Regions from separate parts of the Homo sapiens genome. Here regions 1 and 2 are each linked to region 3. The links are contacts of gene promoters, found by promoter capture Hi-C in human tissues and cell types (Jung and others, 2019). All regions are on one chromosome and are shown on one strand. Each heading gives the region's core, a stretch centred on a gene start or on the middle of the fragment in contact. The rest is flanking DNA. Distances are from core to core; before and after follow the strand shown.

Region 1 (2,700 bases), core at 63-2,562, 50 kb after region 3:
ATGTTTGCCTAAAGTCACACAATCTGTGAGGCACTGAGCCAGGATTAAACCCAAGGCCATCTGGCCTCAGTGCCAATGTTTTTCAGCTCCAAGTTCCCAGTTGGGAAGAGTAAAAGGGAGACCTGCTCAAAATGCATCAATCTCAAGGTCCTTCCAGAGATGCAGGTCAACTTATATGCTTGAGATGGGAAAATGCATACAGATCAACTTTACTGAATCTGATCAACCTATCATTCCATTTTTTGTACAAGAACTTTACATGTAGCTTTAGGGGTCATGCTCAAGCCCCTTCTTAAAATAGTGTATAGGTTTTATTTTATTGTTTACTTAAGCTTTCTTCCACGTCTTTTATAGAAAAATTAGTTTATGGCCATAATTATGACAAGCTAATATTAGCAGTTTCACAATGGCTGATTATCATTTTGTAGTATAAGGAATATGCAACTTGACAATATTCTGTATGCTTAACTTGCTGTGCTGATCACTGAGTTCATAACTTTAAAAGCTTTACATGCCATATTAAAAATGTTCTTCATTTATATAACTATTTTCCATCATCTTTGCTGGAAAAGTTAGGCATCACCAAACTAGAAACAAATTCCCTTAAAAATTTTTATCTATTGGGATGTTGTCCCCAAGCTTATCAAATTAATTGGGTTTCTAGTAATTATTAAGGCTTGAGCTAATACTAAGGCTTTTCTGTGGCCAGTTCATTATGATTTTACCACTGTGTGAATTCTCTGGTGTACAGTTAGTTGTGACTTCTGGATGAAGGCCTTCCCACATATAGCACATTGATAGGGTCTTTCCCCAGTATGAATCCTCTGATGTAAAACAAGGTCTGACTTCTGAGAAAAGGCCTTTCCACATTCAGCACATATGTAAGGTTTCTCTCCTGTATGAATTCGCTGGTGTCCCGGAAGGTGGGACTTCTGAGAGAAGGCTTTCCCACATTCAGTACATATATAAGGTTTTTCTCCTGTGTGAATTCTCTGATGTCCAATGAGATGTGACTTCTGGCAGAAGGCTTTGCCACATTCACTACATTTATAGGGTTTTTCTCCAGTATGTGTTCTCTGATGTATGATGAGCTGTGACTTGCGGGAGAATGTCTTTCCACATTCAGTACATTCATAAGGTTTTTCCCCAGTATGAACTAACTGATGTGTAATGAGTTCTGTCTTCCTGCTGAAGGCTTCCTCACATTGAGCACATTTGTAGGGTTTCTCACCAGTGTGAATTCTTTTATGTATAATGAGGTGGGACTTCTCACAGAAGGCTTTCCCACATTCGGTACACTCATACGGCTTCTCTCCAGTATGAGCTCTGTGGTGTATAATCAGCTGTGACTTCTGGGAAAAGGCCTTCCCACACTCTCTACATTCATAGGGTTTTTCCCCAGTATGTATTCTCTGATGTATAATGAGGGGTGATTTCTGGGAGAAGGCTTTCCCGCATTCACTACATTCATAGGGTTTTTCCCCAGTGTGAACTCTCTGATGTATAATAAGGGACGATTTCTGAGAGAAGGCTTTTCCACATTCAGAACAATCATAAGGTTTCTCCCCAGTATGAGTTCTCTGATGTACAACAAGATGAAACTTCTCACTGAAGGCTTTTCCGCATGCACCACAATCATATGGTTTCTTTCCAGTATGAATTCTTTGATGTACAATGAGTTGTGACTTCTTAGCAAAGGCTTTTCCACATGTAACACATACACAGCTTTTCTCTTTAGTTTCCACATTCTGATATTGAATAAGGGATTGTGTATTTCTAAAAACGTTTCCACACTGATTATCATCAAAAGGTATTACTCCATTGTGAATCTTCTCAAGATTAGAATTGGGCTCACTCTGGCTAGATGATTTTCCACCTCCAAAACTCTGATCAGGTTTTTTTCTTGAATTGCTCTTATAACAACTCGGTAGGTCAATATTTGGTTTTAAGTTCTTTTTAAAAGCATCATATTTATGGAATCTCTGTATTGATATATCTGTTTCTATGCACTCTTGAAATATTTTCCCCAGTGGATTATATTTATGCCCTGATGCCTCAGTCACTGTTTTGCTGTTAACAAATGTGACCTGCCTGAAGAGTTTGTCTTGATTCTCTAGAAATCTCTGCAGCTGACCATCACCTTGACAGACTTTTAAAATGGAGCACAATGAACCATCCCTTGTGACTCCTTTCAGTATCTTATGATGGAAGGAAACTGTCCCCAAAATACATGACTGGGAGTTGTGAAGGTTACTCTTCCTGTCTAAAAGAAGAAAAGATACAATTTAAGAGTCATCACAAGAGTCAATTAAGAGGGTAAAGAAGTAGAACAAATGGATGATCCAACATAGTAGATGAACTCACAAAAAAAGGATGGAAACAGGTCATCTCAGAAGACAGTACAGCATATAGTGTTATCAGGTGAATAGACAGACAAGAATGTTAAACAGAAATATTCATGTAAAAACTAAACTTAAAAGAGATGAAAAAGTGGGGTCTCATCACTAATTTTTGATTATTCTTCTAGAATATTTCACTTCTGCTTTCTGAATAGAAACCCCTTTTCACCTTTTAATTTCATTTATATTATAAATCATGTGCTACACATTCTTATTATCCTACCATCACTCTAAAAAACAAGGTATCTTCTGTATGCAAAATACTTTAACTCTCCTCCATCTATTTTCCTAACAACTAACA
Region 2 (2,806 bases), core at 141-2,640, 36 kb before region 3:
CTCAATGATGTCCTTCATAGCAAAGGGATCCAGTTCAGCGTCATGTGTTTCATTTTGTTGTCATATCTGTTTGGTTTTCTTCAATGTGGAACAGTTCCCTAGTCTTTCTTGGCCTTTATGACCTTAACACTTTTGAAGATTACAGGCCAATTATTTTGTAGAATAGCTCTCAATTTGAGTTCACCTAATGTTTTCTTATGAATAGATTTAGGTTTGCATCTTTGATAGGAATATCATAGCAATGGTGACAATTTTGATTCACCTCATTACTGGTGATGTTAACTTTGGTCACTGATTGGTGTCTGCTAGACTTCTCCACTGTAAAGTTACTCTTTCTTCCCTTTGTAATTAATAAATATTTTGTAAGGTGGTACTTTGAGACTATGCAAATATCCTGTTCCTCATCAGACTTTCAATTTGTCCATTCATTTATTTATTTCAGTGTGGACTCATGGGTTCCTATTTTATTCAGTAGGTTAAAACCAGTTGCTTTCATTATTTAGTTTGATGCTCAGTGTGGGGGTTCAATAAGGCTGGTGGGAAAAATATTAAAGATAGTTATAGTAATAGCCACAAACTCTCTTGGAAGGCCTGAGAGTTTGTATAACATCAGTAATAGATCTGGCTGAAGGCGGCCTGGTCCCTTTACCTTTAGTTAAATAAGTTAAAGTAGTAACTAAGGAATGTGGGGAAGTTATCTAGCTAGCTTGTTTACTCATGTGGTCTTAAGACTAACCTTTGATGTACGGCAGGTGCTTAATTGCTTTCTACTTGGGAATTCCACAGTGTCAATTACCCTCTAGTGGTGTTGACTCAAGCCTTTGTCAATTAATCTTCCCCAAATAAATGTGAGTCTCACTAGCTGGTCAGGGCCACAGTCACAACTGTTTACAGTACTCTCCAGGGAGTCTGTAAGTGGCTTGGACACTCAGCTGGACTGGCAAAGCAGAATATCTGTGTGTCAGTGTACTTCATTCATCCATGGCTGGCTCAGGGTCTGCGGGTCAGACCGCCCCAAGTGAGAACTCTTTCAAGAGTCTTTTTGATATGTTCTCATAAGTCTTTCAGTGCTTCTTTACTTCCTGGCAAAGATGTCCCAGGCTCATCTTATAGTTTCCCTGCCCTAGACTTGGGATCAGCCATTTCTCCAAGGAGACTTGGATCCTGTTTTGGAGTATGGTCTTCAGAAAAGATGTCAGAACCAGGTGTGCTCATTGTTACTGAGGGCTTGTTACTTCCTGTTTTCAATGGACAGAGCTAGTTAATATATATATATACTTATATACATACATAAGCACATTTTTACACCTATACTTCTATATCCCTATTGAAAACCATGGGTTCACTTTGATATCTCCAATTCCAATCTAACAGCACAGGGCTCATTCATGTTTTCTCTCCTTCTATATTTGAAACTTCCTTCTCCAATAGTGAGAAGTCTTGATATATTTTTGATCAAGCCTTCTGTATGTCACCAGTCTGTCATTGCTGCTGCATCCCACACTCCCTGTGCAATGCTTTCCCTACCTGCTTGGGCTTCAATATCCCACACCAGGCTTCTCCTCTCGTTGATGTTCTTCTTGCTCTACTTGAGCTCCATTACCCCTAACTAGTCCAGCATCCTCACCTTGCCTGGGCTTTAGCACTCTGATTTGGGTAACCACAGGATTCCCCCTATCCTTGCCATATTCATTTCTCTTGCCACTTAGTGGCCTTTGGATTGATCTGAACAAGGAAAGGATAAAAGAGAAGTTATCATTTTATTTTCAAGTTAGTATTTGCTGAGTACTATTTATCAAGCTCTGTATTATCTCATTTTAGTGACATAATGAACTTGATTACATTTTACTAATTGAAGCAGTCAAGATGAAAGAAGTTGTCACTTGCCAGACTCCACAGCCAGTAAGTGGCAGATCCAGGACTGGATGTTGTCTTGCTGACTATAAACCAATGTTCCACTTGGAAGCTGTGTATGTGTGATTCATAGAAAAAGTGGTTAATTTTCAAAGGCAATAATCATAGAATTGGTAGTGTATAAATTTTTTGGGGATATAATTGTCAGATGTCTCAATTACAAGCCCAAGATAGATGAGGCAGTATTAATTTGCTAATTACATATTTTGAAAAGATTGTACATAAAGAAAATGTTTTCTCTTTAATTACGGCATTAAGGATTTCAAAAGGTACTTTATAATTTATACCATTTCATTTCATAATTTTATTTCTTTTCTCTGTGTTTTAAAGCATGTTCTAAGGGTTAAACTTTTAAACTTTAAACTACACAGTGAATCACTTTCTTTTCTTTTCTTTTTTTTTATTTTTTTGAGATGGAGACTCAGTCTGTCTCCCAGGCTGGAGTGCAATGGTGCAATCTCAGCTCACTGTGACCTTTGCCTCCCAGGTTCAAGCGATTCTCCTGTCTCAGCCTCCTGAGTAGCTGGGATTACAAACATGCTCCACTACACCTGGCTAATTTTTGTATTTTTAGTAGAGACAGCGTTTCACAGTCTTGGTCAGGCTGGTCTCGAACTCCTGACCTCAGGTGATCCACCCGCCTTGGCCTTCCAAAATGCTGGGATTACAGGCATGAGCCACCGCGCCTGGCCTGTGAATCACTTTCAATAAGCCTTTCCATAATTTAGAAAAAGACATATAAGAAGGAAGATTTCTTACGCTGTTTGCCTTTTGTTAAATAATGGTGACCCAGTTTCTAAAAGGAACCAGTTTCTAAAAGGAAAACCTGAGTAATTACTTAGAAGAGGCTGGCTTTCTAAACTTAGTTAACAGCTATTATTATTTAATTGTC
Region 3 (2,840 bases), core at 146-2,645:
ATGTGTGCATGCCGAGGGTGAGTGAGAGTGTGTGTGTGGGGGGGTAAGTAAACATGGCTGGGCATGGGTGAGTGTGCACACCAGGTATGAGTGGCTGTGTGCAGTGTTGTGTGTGTTCACAATGAGTGTGTGAAACAGACCTGCCAGGCCATGCTAGTGAGAGGTGACAGCATGCTGGCAGCCCTCGCAGCCCTCGCTGGCTCTCGGAGCCTCCTCAGCCTTGGCGCCCACTCTAGTGGCACTTGAGGAGCCCTTCAGCCCGCCGCTGCACTGTGGGAGCCCCTTTCTGGGCTGGCCAAGGCCGGAGCTGGCTCCCTCAGCTTGTGGGGAGGTGTGGAGGGAGAGGCACGGGCAGCAACTGGGGCTGCGGGCGTCGCTTGCGGGCCAGCACGAGTTCCGGGTGGGCGTGGGCTCAGCGGGCCCGCGCTCAGAGCAGCCATCCGGCCCCGATGGCCCCTGGCAGTGAGGGGCTTAGCACCTGGGCCAGCAGCTGCTGTGCTGGATTTCTCCCCGGCCTTAGCTGCCTCCCCGCAGGGCAGGGCTTGGGACCTGCAGCCCGCCATGCCTGAGCCTCTCTCCCCTGCCCCACTCCGTGGGCTCCTGCACAGCCCGAGCCTCCCCTATGAGCGCCGCTCCCTGCTCCACGGCGCCCAGTCCCATCCACTGCCCAAGGGCTGAAGAGTGCAGGCGCATGGCCGGGGACTGCCAGGCAGCTTCACCTGCGGCCTGGTGCAGGATCCACTGGGTGAAGCCAGCTGGGCTCCTGAGTCTGGTGGGGACTTGGACAACATTTATGTCTAGCTAAGGGATTGTAAATACACCAATCAGCACTCTGTATCTAGCTCAAGGTTTGTAAACACACCAATCAGCACCCTGTGTCTAGCTCAGGGTTTGCGAACACACCAATCGACCCTCTGTATCTAGCTAATCTAGTGGGGACATGGAGAACTTTTGTGTCTAGCTCAGGAATTGTAAATGCACCAATCAGCACCCTGTGTCTAGCTCAGGGTTTGTGGATGCACCAATCAGCACTCTGAGCCTAGCTAATCTGGTGGGGACTTGGAGAATCTTTATGTCTAGCTAAGGGATTGTGAATGCACCAATTGGCACTCTATATCTAGCTCAAGGTTTGTAAACACACCAATCAGCACCCTGTGTCTAGCTCAAGGTTTGCAAATGCACCAATCTATACTCTGTATCTAGCTAATCTAGTGGGGAGGTGGAGAACTTTTGTGTCTAGCTCAGGGATTGTAAACACACCAATCAGCACCCTGTCAAAATGGACCAATCAGCTCTCTGTAAAACAGACCAATCGGCTCTCTGTAAAATGGACCAATCAGCAGGATGTGGGTGGGCCAGATAAGAGAATAAAAGCAGGCTGCCCGAACCAGCAGTGGTAACCTGCTCAGGTCCCCTTCCATGCTGTGGAAGCTTTGTTTTTTTGCACTTTGCAGTAAATCTTGCTGCTGCTCATTCTTTGGGTCCACACTGCCTTTATGAGCTGTAACACTCACCGTGAAGGTCTGCAGCATCACTCCTGAAACCTGTGAAACAACGAACCCCCCGGGGAGAAACGAACAACTCCAGACTCGCCGCCTGAAGAGCTGTAACTCTCACTTCGAAGGTCTGCAGCTTCGCTCCTGAGTCAGTGAAACCACGAACCCACCGGAAGGAAGAAACTCTGAACACATCCAAACATCAGAAGGAACAAACTCCGGACACGCAGCCTTTAAGAATTGTAACACTCACCGCGAGGGTCCGTGGCTTCATTCTTGAAGTCAGTGAGACGAAGAACCCACCAATTCCGGTAGGAGTAGGAAATCACATCACCTTCTTTTAATCAGTCTCAAATACCTGGCCCCTTGTGGAACCTGCAAGAGCCAGGTTTGGCGAATGCAATGATAAGCAATTGTCTAATCACTGCCTTGAAAAAGAGCAGAGCATTTGAGTATGCTGTCTCCTCCTCTCCCTCACTTCAGTTGGGCCCAACATGACAGTCTTAATGGAAGCTCGGGGGTCAAAGGCTGGTGGCTTACTTCACGTATATTGCAGCATTTCAGTACTGCTCTGCACGTGTGCTCCCCCGCCTGATGAGGTAAGTGTTAAACAGGGATGATCACAGCTTCAAGTAAGCAATGGGAATTGGATGTTTTATGTCCTCTGGCGCCATCTTCAGCAGAGAAATATATAGGTCACTTTTACTTGTCTGGTTTTGGTCTTGAAATATGTACTGAAACTTGTGAAGGAGCAGACCTATATTAGGATAGAGTAAAAGAGGGAAAGACAAAAACCTCTTGGGCTTTTCAGGAGACTTGGTTCATTCTCTGCTTTTCAAGCCATCTCATGGCCACATGCCTGCTTTGGAGGCTGACTCGGAGGCACAACCGGCCTCAGGGCGTTCCTCAGGGACCCTACCTTTCTTGCTCCCTGAAGAAATGTGCACATTGCTTGAATAAAAACAATCAAAGAACACTCAGTCAAGATCGTCTGCTGCAGTCTTCGTTGAGGGCTGGGGATGCTAAAAGTCAGATGATTCATGTGTACCCTGTCCATCCTAACTCACCTGCTCTTCTACTTCCGCAGCTTACTCCAGTGCCCACAGATACGACAGAGTGTCCCAAGTGCCCCTCACACTCTATTAGCTGCATCCTTAACCTCTTTTTGCCACACCATAAGCATTGGGTTTTGTTTGTTTTGAGATGGAGTCTTGCTCTGTTGCCAGGCTGGAGTGCAATGGCGTGATCTCAGCTCACTGCAATATCTGCGTCCAGGGTTCAAGCGATTCCCCTGCCTCAGCCTCCTGTATTAGCTGGGACTACAGGCGCACACCACCACGCGCA

What was found. The method cuts DNA at HindIII sites, captures the fragments that hold promoters and counts their contacts. A contact is called where the count stands out against the background at its distance.
Region 1: a fragment that was not itself captured here is called in contact with the fragment with the promoter of IRGM in region 3 in 2 of the 25 tissues and cell types used here (H1 embryonic stem cells and aorta).
Region 2: a contact is called between a fragment that was not itself captured here and the fragment with the promoter of IRGM in region 3, in 1 of the 25 tissues and cell types used here (ovary).

Annotation. Positions count from the first base shown.
Region 1 is chr5:150,894,711-150,897,410 of GRCh38, forward strand. It overlaps ZNF300 (zinc finger protein 300), which reads right to left. Exons shown (of 6, transcript NM_052860.4): 6 at 1-2,263. The coding sequence ends at 714. It also overlaps a transcript of IRGM not described here. Among named protein-coding and RNA genes, the nearest start is that of ZNF300, 8.9 kb to the right of the region's middle. The HindIII fragment of the contact is 3,286 bases long and covers 1-2,700 here.
Region 2 is chr5:150,808,705-150,811,510 of GRCh38, forward strand. No RefSeq gene overlaps it. Among named protein-coding and RNA genes, the nearest start is that of SMIM3, 31 kb to the left of the region's middle. The HindIII fragment of the contact is 6,969 bases long and covers 1-2,806 here.
Region 3 is chr5:150,845,126-150,847,965 of GRCh38, forward strand. IRGM (immunity related GTPase M) reads left to right here and starts at 1,396. Exons shown (of 2, transcript NM_001145805.2): 1 at 1,396-2,095; 2 at 2,584-2,840. RefSeq lists a silencer at 1,982-2,276. The HindIII fragment of the contact is 10,169 bases long and covers 1-2,840 here.